Linked DNA regions of Homo sapiens: regions 1, 2 and 4 are each linked to region 3. Evidence: promoter capture Hi-C in human tissues and cell types (Jung and others, 2019). All regions are on one chromosome and are shown on one strand. Each heading gives the region's core, a stretch centred on a gene start or on the middle of the fragment in contact. The rest is flanking DNA. Distances are from core to core; before and after follow the strand shown. Region 1 overlaps TANC2 (tetratricopeptide repeat, ankyrin repeat and coiled-coil containing 2). Region 2 overlaps DCAF7 (DDB1 and CUL4 associated factor 7). Region 3 holds the start of KCNH6 (potassium voltage-gated channel subfamily H member 6). Region 4 overlaps MAP3K3 (mitogen-activated protein kinase kinase kinase 3).

Evidence for each region. The method cuts DNA at HindIII sites, captures the fragments that hold promoters and counts their contacts. A contact is called where the count stands out against the background at its distance.
Region 1: a fragment that was not itself captured here is called in contact with the fragment with the promoter of KCNH6 in region 3 in 5 of the 25 tissues and cell types used here (aorta, heart left ventricle, mesendoderm cells and 2 more).
Region 2: a fragment that was not itself captured here is called in contact with the fragment with the promoter of KCNH6 in region 3 in 6 of the 25 tissues and cell types used here (IMR-90 fibroblasts, dorsolateral prefrontal cortex, lymphoblastoid cells and 3 more).
Region 4: a fragment that was not itself captured here is called in contact with the fragment with the promoter of KCNH6 in region 3 in 8 of the 25 tissues and cell types used here (bladder, dorsolateral prefrontal cortex, heart right ventricle and 5 more).

What each region holds. Positions count from the first base shown.
Region 1 is chr17:63,423,995-63,427,346 of GRCh38, forward strand. TANC2 (tetratricopeptide repeat, ankyrin repeat and coiled-coil containing 2) reads left to right here. Exons shown (of 28, transcript NM_001394998.1): 28 at 1-3,352. Among named protein-coding and RNA genes, the nearest start is that of CYB561, 21 kb to the right of the region's middle. RefSeq lists an enhancer at 1,718-2,456. The HindIII fragment of the contact is 4,240 bases long and covers 1-3,352 here.
Region 2 is chr17:63,594,004-63,597,233 of GRCh38, forward strand. It overlaps DCAF7 (DDB1 and CUL4 associated factor 7), which reads left to right. Exons shown (of 7, transcript NM_005828.5): 7 at 1-263. Among named protein-coding and RNA genes, the nearest start is that of TACO1, 5.3 kb to the right of the region's middle. The HindIII fragment of the contact is 6,157 bases long and covers 1-3,230 here.
Region 3 is chr17:63,521,955-63,524,879 of GRCh38, forward strand. It overlaps KCNH6 (potassium voltage-gated channel subfamily H member 6), which reads left to right and starts at 1,404. Exons shown (of 13, transcript NM_001278919.2): 1 at 1,404-1,535; 2 at 2,185-2,415. The coding sequence starts at 1,460. The HindIII fragment of the contact is 20,898 bases long and covers 1-2,925 here.
Region 4 is chr17:63,636,472-63,639,595 of GRCh38, forward strand. All of the region lies in intron 2 of MAP3K3 (mitogen-activated protein kinase kinase kinase 3), which reads left to right. It also overlaps the pseudogene EEF1DP7. Among named protein-coding and RNA genes, the nearest start is that of MAP3K3, 16 kb to the left of the region's middle. The HindIII fragment of the contact is 5,071 bases long and covers 1-3,124 here.

The sequences.
Region 1 (3,352 bases), core at 184-2,683, 98 kb before region 3:
CAGATTGCTTTTTGGCCAGGTCTCAGCACTGCTGGCATCTTTACATCTTACTCCTTAAAACCGCCTCTCGCTGAGGAGCCACTGCATTTTGAAGAATTTCTCAGTGTCTGTCAGGAAAGTGCTCCTGCTCATTTGGAACGCCACACACCACCCGCACTCACCTGTCCAGGCGAATGAGCAGGTCCTGTAGCTTTACAAATATGCCGCTGATGCCGCTTCTCCCCAGGGTCTCTCAGTTTTCCAGGACAAAAAGATTTAGGGCCTATACCCTATGGGCAAAACACCTAAAATGTCAACAGTCAAAATGCCATTCTTTTTGGCCATCATAAGAGGGAGTAGGTATCACTGCTGCATGCCAGTTGTTTTTGACTAGAATATGCCAACCAGAGCTTGTTGGGGCAGGAGACGTTTTTCCTTACAAGCAGACTGCCTGTGCCCTGTGCCCTGTTTGCTACTTCACTGCCATGGAATGATCCGAGTACTGTATTTCAGAGCTGCCCCTTCCCCAGCAGCAAACACTCGCTGAGTCCATGTCTGGCTTCAGGTGGGAGGAAATGTTTCAGATGAAACTTACTCAATTCATACCACCCTGAAATGGAGGACAGAGGTGACAAACTTCAGTTTAATAGGTTTCTCACCAAGTTGTATGTTCCATTGGCCCAGGATTCTTGCACTAATGGGTTTCTATCACATCATGTCTATAAATGGGTGCACTTTACTGTTTGAATTTGTAACTGAAGTACTGGATATTTAAGTGTGAGTAATGTCTTCATTAGAAAATAGCAGAACCGCTCTTGTCTTTTAGTGTATTTTTCAAGAAAAAAGGAAAGGAAAGACATCAAGCAGTGGATCACAACATTTATAGCACAAGAAATAACTTGTATATAAGCATCAAAAAGATTAAGAATTTTTTAATATGAAAAATATTTGCAGTGATTTTAAAGTGCTTTTCCAGCAATGTTCTTAGGGACTCCTGAGACACGGTTACTTTATCTACTGGATCAGTAAGGCACACAATTAACAATTAACAATTAATGTTTATTTACAAAGTAAAGGGAAAACCTGTGTAACATGAGAATTTGGCATGACAAAATGGAGACCATTTTGTATCTGCTGTTGTATCTTGTCCGGGTTGCAGACGTGCACTATTAAAGTCCCAAGTTAATAGAGCACAAACCCTTCTCGCTCCTCCCCCATGTGCCCCTCTTTTTAGATGTGTATAACTTAAACTCGATGGCTCAGGAAAATTCCACTAATTAGAATCATGTACAGTACCCCAGGTCGTTGTCCAGATATACAAGTTTGCTAATGTAGTTAAGCCTGGATTATTAAACACTTTTCCTAAATTATTGTAAACAGAACAGCTTAGAGAAAGGTATTCTCAGTCCTTAATATTGTATAGTAGTTTATGAGCCCCTCTCTAAATATTGGTATTTTTATATTCCAGAGATGTACCCAATAGAAAAAATTAAAAATTAATCAGTATCTAATTTAATATCCATAAGTATTTTTCCTTAGATTTTAGTCACGTACAGTGGGCTATGTGGATGTCACTTGTGCTTCACCATAGTTTACCACTAGGTGTCACTGTGGCTCTGCACTGCGCTTGTTTTGTAGCAAAGAACAGCGGCATCCCCTCGGGAGAGAGGAGCTGCTTCCAGGGCAACAGGCAAGCGGGCTCAGAGGTTCAGGAGAAGGCAACAGAGGCCTGGAAGGGGTCTTCGTGCATCTGTGCCAGTTGTGCAAGACGAACTCTTTGAACACTACATGCTTTGGACTTCAGCCAGGCAGAGGCTGGAAGAAGGTTGACCAGAGCTCCCTTGCTCTGGTAGAGGGATGGGTACATGGAGAAGCCCCTTCTTCCCCATGAGCCTCCCTCCTGTCAGTTCCTCTCAGCCTCCAGCTTTTATAACTCCAGAAGCGTCACAGTTGGGTGGTTTGATTCAGAGAGAGTTATTTTTCTACTGCAGAAATGCCTTGGACAAAACCAGTGCTCACTGAATCTTTGCCACAAAATGGAATAGGCTATCCCAGGGGGCAAGAGGTGCCCGCCCCTGTGCCCAGCCTCCTCTTGATGCTCCCAGTGCCCAGCAGCCTCGCACACCCTGCCTGTCTGTTCCTGGGCTGCCCATTTCTCAAGAAACCGACCTGCAAAGGCAGCCGGCTGCTGCCTCCACACCGAGGGCTGTGCGGTCCTGCTGCTCGCTCACTGGGAGGTGCAGCTCTTTCTCCTCTTCCTCTAGGAATTCCAGACCGACCATCTACCATGACTAACAACAATGAACAAAGGGCTTAGGGGCAAGAGCTACCTGCAAAGACGTGTCATGGAACCCTTCACCATGCAATGCCTTGAACTCAGCTCTGGCTGCTCCCAAGAAAAGGTGGCTGGCTGGGGGCCTGGACACAAGCACAATGGGGCTGGTGGAGCCACTGTGCAGAGCTACTTGAATAATCACTGGGTTTTCATCAACTCCTTTTGTCATACAGACCACTCAAGGGCTGAAGTGTTGGTAACCTTCATTTCGGTGTCCAAAGCCTCACAGCAGGTGAGCCACCCTGAGATGCTTGTGGCCACATGGTGGCCACAGTCAGAGCTTTGAAAGTCAGTACCAAATGAACGCATAATTGGACACCAAAAATCAAGTGTTACTTTCATGTTTCCTCACCCCATCATCTCATTGCCTCCTGCTGACTCTGATACCGACGCTGAGCTGACTTGCCAGGCTGCCGCTGGACGCGTAGAGATCAGGCCAGCGCCGCGCTCATTTTTCCAGGTAGACCTACTCTGTGGAACGGAAGTGCCCTAGCTGCTTTGTTTTTGTAGCACTTGCTGGCTGAATTTTTCTTTTGCTAATCGCTAACCAGAAAGTCTGGTTAGAGGGGGCTCAACTCAATCCCTTTGGTCCCCAGCGCCAGACAAGAGTTAATTCTGGAAAATTCAGTACTTGAATGTACCTGCCTTATTGCATACCAATTTACTGGGGGGAAAAAAAAAGTTAAGAGATGCCGGCTCCAGATCTCCACTTCATTCACAGGTGATTTTGGAAATCCTGTAAGTTACACTTCCTGTTCTGGTTTTGTTTTGTTTTTTGTTTCCTTTGGCTGATTCCTGCTGAGTGAGGCCAGTTCCTCATCAGGCTCAGGGCAGGTGCCTTTTCAGGCGTGGCCTCCTTTCCATCTAGCACAGCATCTTTGTCTCTGTTCTGTCTCCTCCAAATCCAAGATGATTTTAATTAGTACAGACATGTACAGTCTACAATTAAAGAGTGATTTGTACTAATATGATTTTGATTCTTCCTCCTCTTTGCTGTCCTTTCAAGACACTTGCTGGAAAAAGCTTTAATGCACTTAG
Region 2 (3,230 bases), core at 80-2,579, 72 kb after region 3:
TTTATAAATATTTTCACAGGACTGATTGTACACAGGGCTTGTAATAAAATTTTAACACTGTGCTGTGAAACAACTATGGGGAATCTCCATTGAAGGCTACTTCATGGGCACCTGAAAGTGGAGTGTTATAGCTATGACTTTCTATTTCTTGTTTCCTAAGTAAATTAAACCTAATTTTCACCCTTTCATTCTGTTTCAGCCTCCTGTATAAGAAGTACCGTATTTTCTGCCCATCATACTTTGTAATAAAACTTGAACATGTATAGATTGACTGAATTTCTTTTTGTGACGAATTCAGTTCTTCCCATTTTGTCACTTTGGTCATGTTCCATAGACAGTGGCAGTGCCCCAGCCCGAGCCGGGCAGTCTACTCATCACCTTTTATATCCTATTTAGTCATTCACTTGTTAATTCAGTGGAGCACCTCCTCTATGCCAGGGGACATGGCCCTCAAGTTGGTTGCAGTCTACCAGAGGAGACATCTACATAAATACTTGTGGCCGGGCACAGTGGTCTGTGATCCCAGCTGAGGCATGGGGGTGGCTGAGGTGGGAGGATCACTTGAGGCCAGGAGTTCAAGACCAGCCTTGGCAACATAGCAAGACCCTGTCTCAATCAATCAGTCATTTTTATTAAAAAAAAAAAAAATTTCTTTTAGCCAGACTAAGATCTAAGACAAATCTTTTTTTTTGCATTTCTTTTTTCTTTTTTTGAGACGGGGTCTCGCTCTGTCACCCAGGCTGGAGTGCAATGGCGCGATCTCGGCTCACTGCAACCTCCACCTCCCGGTTCAAGCTATTCTCCTGCCTCAGCCTCCTGAGTAGCTGAGATTACAGGCATGTGCCACAACACCCGACTGATTTTTGTATTGTTAGTAAAGACGGGGTTTCACCGTGTTGGTCAGGTTGGTCTCGAACTCCTGACCTTGTGATACGCCTGCCTCAGCTTCCCAAAGTGTTGGGATTACAGGTGTGAGCCACCGCACCTGGCATTTATTTTATTTTAATAGTTTTGGGGGAACAAGTGGTTTTTGGTTATGTGGATAATAAGTTTTTTTAATGATGATTTCTGAGATTTTGGTGCACCCATCACCGGAGCAGTGTACACTGTACCCAATTGGTAGTCTTTTATCCCTACCCCCTCCCACCCAAATTTTTAAAAGACAAAAAACAAAAAAACCAAATAACTTGCATTGTTGTGCGATAATGGATGTGTTTAGGCATCACCCCTCAGGAGGAGGTGATCACCTCTGCCTGTGTGGGAGCCACATGGGGTCAGCGAAAACTACTTAAGATGGATGCCTAAGCTGGGTTTTGAAGGCTGAGTAGGAGTTATCTGGAAATAGGGAATGTCCTTTAAGGCAGAGAGAACACCCATGTGCAAATCTATGGAGGCAAGAAAGTATGGTCATATTTAGAGAATTGCAGGTTGAGGTGGGGTGAATAGTGGGAAATGTAGCTAGAGATGTATACAGGAGCCAGGGCAGGGAAAGTCTCCCGCTTTGCAGAAATTTTAGACATTACACTTCTGTATGATCCTGGAAAACATACACAGAGAGGAGTCATCAGAATTGCATTTTAGAAGGATAGGCAATGAAAAAGTGCCTCTTCCTTCTTATAGGGTGAGAGAAAAACCCTGAACTAAGGCGGCGGCGGCAGCAGCAGCCACGGCAAGGATGGAGAGGACAGGGCACAAGTAAAGAGGGATGCAGTCATCAGCATTTAGTAATTTATTGATTGTGAAGGAGGACAGAGAAATAACTCCCAGATCTTTTGGATTTGGACAGGTTCTGATGGCTGACTAGGAATGTCCAAGTCCCTGCTAATTTCCCAAACCTATGCCCCACACGGTAGGGTGGGGGAGTTCCTATCCCACTGCTCTTCAAATGCTGTGTGTCCTGGATGAAATACTACCCCCATTTATTTATATTTTTATTCTTCATGTTGGGCCACTGTGAAGGAAGAGAAGAAAGGCAAACTGATTGGTTCCGTGAACCTGTATTCGGTAAGTACCTGCCATTGTGTCAGCTGATATGGAGCCGGTGGCAGTGGATCTGTGAAGGGAAGTATGTGCTCTTGAGAATTTAATTTTTTTTTTTTTTCAGACAGAATTTCGCTCTTGTTGCCCAGGCTGGAGTGCAATGGCGCGATCTCGGCTCATCGCAACCTCCGTCTCCCGGGTTCAAGCGATTCTCTTGTCTCAGCCTCCTGAGTAGCTGGGACTACAGGCATGTGCCACCACGCCTGGCTAATTTTATATTTTTAGTAGAGATGGGGTTTCATCATGTTGGTCAGGCTGGTCTCAAACTCCCGACCTCAGATGATCCACCCACCTCGGCCTCCCAAAGTGCTGGGATTACAGGCGTGAGCCACCGTGCCTGGCAGAGAATTTAAGTTTTATGAGTACCTGCTGGTCCTTTGGAACTGTGCTGCTATATGGTCTGACAATGTATATTTTGTGAGAAACACATGAGTCCTGCTCTCTGGTTTTTAAGGAGAAAACAGAGAGTAATACTATTTATAGGCTAGCCTATGCTGCGGCAACAAACCCCCAAATCTCAGAAACTGAGCACTACAAAAGCTTATTTTTTGCTTACACAAAGTCCTCTGGGCCGGGTGCAGTGGCTCAACTCTCTAATCCCAGCACTTTGGAAGGCTGAGGGGGGAGGGAGGGGCAGATAGCTTGAGGTCAGGAGTTCGAGACCAGCCTGGCCAACATGGTGAAACCCTATCTCTACTAAAAATACAAAAATTAGCTAGGCATGGTGGCACACGCCTGTTGTCCCAGCTACTTGGGAAGCTGAGGCAGGAGAATAGCTTGAACCCGGGAGGTGGAGGTTGCAGTGAGCCAAGATCGCACCACTGCACTTCAGCCTGGGCAACAGAGCAAGACTCCATCTCAAAAAATAAAAATAAACGTGTGACCTCCAGGTTGCTTATGGGGGGTGGGAGGGAGTACATTTTTCAGGATGGGCCGGGAAGTGGCTTACTCACTTTTGCTCCTATCTGCCAACTGCAAGGAAGGTCAAGTCAAGAAATGTAGTCTTCCTGTGTACCCTGGAAAAGGAAGTGAAGTAGTGAATAATTATGTCTCAGCCATACTAGCAAATCGGCTAAGTATCTGGACTAATAACTAATGTAATCTCATTCATTGAGAGCTGTTAGTACTGGACAACACATGGTCAAACCTAATGGAATGATATTTGTAGCCAGTCTTTAGCTTCCAAGGCT
Region 3 (2,925 bases), core at 154-2,653:
CTTTGCCTAAGGTGCATGCCCCATTTGAATGCTTGCCCTCCAAGATCAGGCTCAAAATTGCTCACCAAACCCTCTGCAGCACTACAAGCCCACCCAGATGCTCAGTGAACAGTAGTCCCCTTCTCCCCTTCCTCTCCAGGAAGCCTCTTTCAATAAACCTATTCCCACCCCCATTTGCTTTTTCTAGTGTGTTCATTTTCAGTCAGTACTCAGTACTCAGACACTTTTATCAGTGGTCACTTGCTAATAGGTGGTTTTAAATCTGTTCTCCTTCCAAGATGTACCTGTATGCTAAGAGCTCTCAGGCCTCTGAAGAAGGCATCTTATTGCATACTTCTTTCTTTCTTTCTTTTTATTTTCAGATGGAGTCTCGCGTCTCGCTCTGTCTACCAGGCTGGAGTACAGTGGCGCAATCTCGGCTCACTGCAACCTCCGCCTCCCGGGTACAAGCGATTCTCCCACTTCAGCCTCCCAAGTAGCTGGGATTATAGGTTTGCGCCACCACTCAGCTAATTTTTGTTTTTTCAGTAGAGACAGGGCTTCGCCATGTTGGCCAGGCTGGTCTCAAACTCCTGACCTCAGGTAATCTGCCCACCTCTGCCTCCCAAAGTGCTGGGATTACAGGCGTGAGCCACCGCGCCTGGCCCTTATTGCATATTTCTTGCACGTCTTCATGTGTACTCCTACCCCCTCCTCTCAGGACCAGGCCCTGGCTGGACTTGGCGGCAGGAGCTCTGCATGGGACCTAGGTCTCAGCTGAGCTGGAGATCACTTGCTATAAGAGCAGGCCAGAGGCCTAATGGTATCATTGCCAGGGTCGGGCCCAGTGGTCAGACCCGGAAGAAAGCTTTCAGCCAAAGACCACCTGAGGCCCCTAACAACCCCATCTGTAGCCCCCCTCCTGCCTGGGAAACTCCCTGCACTGGGAGGGGAGACTGCCCTTTGGTACTGGGAGGGAATCGGAGAGGTGCTGAGGCCATTGGCCCTTAGGACAGGAACAGAAGCAGCTCCTCAGAGAACACCTGCCCTATTCCAGGGCCAGGACCCCAGCCCCGCCCCGCCCCGCCCCGCCCCGCCCCGTAGGATGCAAGGCCCCGCCCCAGCCCCGTCGGGTCCCAGAGAAACTGCCCCGCCCAGCGGCCCCCTCCCCGCCGCCGGCGCGCGGCTTCTTTCAGCACCAAGGCGTGGACAGCTCCCGGGCCGGCGCAGAGGAGAGGAGGCCAGGAGGGCGCGGGCCAGGGAGGCGAGGGGAGGGCAGGGGAGCGCAGGAAAGGAAAGGAGAGGTGGGGCAGGGGTGGGGAGGGGAGGGCAGACGCAGGCTGGCGGGCGGGGCGCGGAGCCCGGCGGCCCTCCCCGGGGGCGGCGCCCACCGGAGCCGGACGCTGCTGAGCCCGAGGACAGACGGAGACGCCGGGAGCCAGTGGCGCCTGTGGCTCCGGGCAGGGGCCGCGGCCGAAAGATGCCGGTCCGCAGGGGCCACGTCGCTCCCCAAAACACTTACCTGGACACCATCATCCGCAAGTTCGAGGGCCAAAGTGAGTGTGTGTATGTTGGGGCGGGGGGACGATCTGGAGTCCTGGTTCCGTGAAAGGGGGGGCTGGACCCCTTTACTAACTTCTAACCGGGCAAGGTGGTGAGTGCCGGGTGCTGAATGAAAAATCCTTCTTTTGATGTCCCCAACACCTTCTCCTCCAGGGGGACCCGCTTGCCTTAAATGCTGTCCTCTTTTCTGGAACACAAGGAGCAGCGTGCAGGCCTTCCCTCCCTACTGCCAGCTGTTTCCTTGGTGCCCCAAGTTCGAACCTCCCCTTCCAGCCACTGCCTGCCCCCTCATCCGCGTCCTCCAGAGGCTTCTCTGAGTCCTTCTTTTCCTTCCTTTTCATATCCTGGTTCTGGTCTTCCCAGGAGCTTTCCCAGGCCTGACCCCCATCTGGTCACATCCCTGCCTCCCTTCCCCACACTTTTCCTGTTTCCAGGAGGCCTTGGGCCTTCCTTCCACCTCAAGACCCTCACTGCCCTAGTCTTCCCACAATCCCCAGGCCTGACTCCCTCCCTCATTCCGGTCACTGCCCTGCTCCTCTGCCTAAATTCCCCTTACTGCCACCAAGAGTCCTTATGATCTTTCCCTCCCAGCCGCTGGATCCTGGCTCCCATGGACTTTTTGCCTCCCACCTCCCACCCCAGGTCGGAAGTTCCTGATTGCCAATGCTCAGATGGAGAACTGCGCCATCATTTACTGCAACGACGGCTTCTGCGAACTCTTCGGCTACTCCCGAGTGGAGGTGATGCAGCAACCCTGCACCTGCGACTTCCTCACAGGCCCCAACACACCAAGCAGCGCCGTGTCCCGCCTAGCGCAGGCCCTGCTGGGGGCTGAGGAGTGCAAGGTGGACATCCTCTACTACCGCAAGGATGGTGAGGCATACTCAGGCCAGAGGCTTTGCAGGGCAGGCTTGGCCCTCTGTCTTGTCCAGCCAGGGTGGCCTTGGGGAAGGCACTGACCCAGGGTCCAAAGGGCCTGAACAAACCCTGTTTCTTCTAGGGGCCTTGGTTCCTCCACAGGCATTGGATATGATGCCTTCTGAGGTCCTTTGCAGGAGCTAGGGATCAGGCTGGGCCACCCACTGGTTCTGGCCTGGGGCAGGGCCTCCTGCTCTGCCATCCCTCTGCTGTGTCCCTGGTCTCCTGGCTCTCCACTATCTTACTGTCAGCCCCAGCGGTCAGGCAGCTGGGATGGAAATTAACCTTCCCTCCTCTCCGTCTGCTCCAAGGATTAGAGGAGGAGTCACCTCCTGAAGACCTCTGTGGCCAGGCAAGGCATGGGGGCTTTTGGCTGGCAAAGTGGGGTGGGCCTGCCTTATCCAGTCTCAGCTCTTTGGGGAGACAGGGTCTGGAGTTTTCCCTGACCAAGAAGCTCATTCAGAT
Region 4 (3,124 bases), core at 34-2,533, 110 kb after region 3:
TGGATAGTTTTGCAGGCCATGATGTGCAGTGTCCCTTTAGCAGTCATTAACTCACAGTGAGTTATCAATGGGTGTTAGTTCTCTGTGGGTCTGACAACTTAGTATAGTGAAAAGAGTGCTGGCCTGTGGCTGAACATGCTGGAGAAGAGCTTGCCTGGCCACAGGGACACAGCCACGCAGATCCAGCATGTGTCTCCCATGTGCCAAGTGGAGCCCCCAGCCAAGAAGGCAGCCACACTAGCAGAGGGTGACAAGGACAATGACATTGACCTGTTTGTCAGCGACAATGAGGAGGAAGACAAGGAGGCAGCCCGGCTGTGGGAGAAGTGGCTGAGGTGGTATGTGGAGAAGAAGGCCAAGAAGACTGCGTTGGTGGTCAAGTCCTCCATCCCGCTGGACATCAAGCCTTGGGACAATGAGACCAATATAGCCCAATTGGAGGCCTGTATGCGCTTCATCCAGCTGGACGGGCTGGTCTAGGGGGGCCTCCAAGCTGGTGCCCATGGGCTACGGTATCCGGAAGCTGCAGATTCAGTGTGTGGTGGGGGACGACAAGGTGGGGACAAACTTTCTGGAAGAGGAGATTACCAAGTTTGAGAGCGTGTGTAGAGTGTCGATGTTGCAGCTTTCAACAAGGTCTGAAGCCTTAGAGTGTGTGTGCGTGCATGCGCACGTGTGCAAGTGTGTGAGGCCCTGCCACTATTAAAAACTGAGACCAACCAAAAAAAAAAAAAAAAAAAGAGTACTGGCCTAGGAGTCATAGAGTTGTTACTCATCTATTAATGTAGGATTTTATAATTTATAGAGTGCTTTCAACAACAGTTAACATCAATGCTATAAGCATGTGTATAAGGTTTACACAGCTTTTACACAAAGGTATTGAGTAGAGGCAGGAAGTAAATCCAAGCCTTCTGATTCCTAGTCACCGTAATTTTACCATGTATAAGTCATATAACCTTTCTGAAGTGAGTTTTTCCATCTGAAATATAGACTTAATACTCACTGTGTCTACCTCTTAAGATTGTTGTAAGATCATAGACAGAATGTGAAATATTTTGTACATTGTAAAACAAATGTACAAATGTGAAGTTGCAGTGGTTATGTCACTTCTTATGTTCTGGCACTGCAGGTGTGAGCTTTGGGGAAAGCTTCTAACTACAACTGTCCATAGTGTTGTGGAACTGAAAGGATTAAGGTTTTTCTCTCTTTATGGGATTATCATTACTGTTTATCTGATGATCTTTGCAAATTTCTGAAGCTAGCCTAATTTCTGAAAATCCCAGTGGAGGAAGAAATGGAATCCTTATTTCCATGGATTCCTGTTTCCCTTGAATCTTATCAAAATGGTAGGTAGATACTTGAACAGAGTCTGGGCTCTGGATCTAACCCTCCAGATGTTCATGAGTGGGTGCTTCAGAACAGAAAAGCTGCTTTCTTCATGATAGGCACAAGCAGGGCAGGGCCTTGGCTATCATTTCTAGAGGAAGAGAATTCCAGGATCTGTTCCCCCAGCAGGGTCAGTGATTGAGCAGACTGTCTTTTGCTTTCAGTGTGAAAGACCTGGCTCTTCAGGACCTCCCTTCTCTTTCAAGGGTTGTTGATAAGATGGGCTGGCCAGTTTGAAAATAAGATATAAAACAACACACAAGCCTGGCATTATATTTTGTAAGAAGATTGCTTTATAATCGTCTCTTCCACTGATCTCCTACAACTTTCCAGAGTCATGCTTAAAAATAAAATTTTAATTTTTGTTGTATTTTTTTTTCCTTTCATTCACTTACTCTCTTTGGCAAAATAAGGACTGCAATTCCAGAAATGTGGGGAGGCATCAAAGGTATGTAGCAAATGCAGGGAGAGAAATCAGTACAGAATCAGAGCGAGGATAAGAAGAATGATGGGTAACTGAGGCCTTTTTCAGGTCAAGTTAGTTCATAAACCTTTGGTTAATAAATCCTGATTTTTCTGGATTCTTGAAAGCTTTTTGGGCTACATGTTCAGCTGTTGAGTCCAGACTTTGAGAAGGTCATTTCTGCTTTAGTGTTATTGTCAGTTATTCCTGTTGCTCCTGCTGAGTCCCTGAATCTGTAGCTCAACCCGACAGCCCGCACTGTCTCTCTCCTGAGCGTGGCTGTCACTACTGCTCTCACCGGATTGCCTGTGGTGGGGAGGGGACATGAAGCTGCTTAGACCTGAATTTCTGTACTAGAACTTTTTTCTCAGTAGCTGACACCTCCATTCAGTTTAACATGTGCCTATGGTCACGCTTCTCAGACACACAAAAGAAATGTATGTCGGTCAGGAGTGGTGGCTCATGCCTGTAACCCCAACACTTTGGGAGGCCGAGGCAGGCGGATCACCTGGCCTGGCCAACGTGGTGAAACCCTGTCTGTACAAAAATACAAAAATTAGCTGGGCATGATGATAGGTGCTTGTAATCCCAGCTACTTGGGAGGCTGAGGTGGGAGAATCGCTTGTACTTGGGAGGCGGAGGTTGTAGTGAGCCGAGATCACTGCACTCCAGCCTGGGCGACAGAGCAAGACTCCATCTCAGAAAAAAAAGAAAAAAGAAAGGTATGTCATATTCCCTGTACCCCAGGAATCATGCAGTCTTACTGGGAAGTGAGGACTACATGAAAAAAAGAAAGTATGATATGACTATGCCTCACTGTGTGGTACAGAGAGTAAGTGCTATAGAAGGCCAGGAAAATGAAAGATGAGCCTGGGCCAGAGGAGCTATGGAGTCATTTCAGGTGGAAGGGCACTTGAACTAGGCTGTGAAGGAAGTATAAACAGTTAGGTAGAACGGAGGAAGGGTGGCACTCCAGGTCAGGAAACAGAATGATTAAAGGCCTAGGGGAAGAAGCAAACATGGCTTGTATCAGGAAACAAGGTGAGCTTTGATCTGGCTTTAAAGGGGGGTCCCTGTGGGGAACAAACAGTGTGAGATGATCAGGTAAACTGAATGAGCCTAAATCCCAGAGGGCTTTGAGTGATAGCAGAGAATTTAGACTTTATTCCATAGATAATGGGTATCACTGATTACCTTATGAACAAAGAAGGAACATGGTGAAAAAGGTGATTGAGATGGTTGGAACTGTAGAGGAACGCAGAGTGGGTTGGAAAT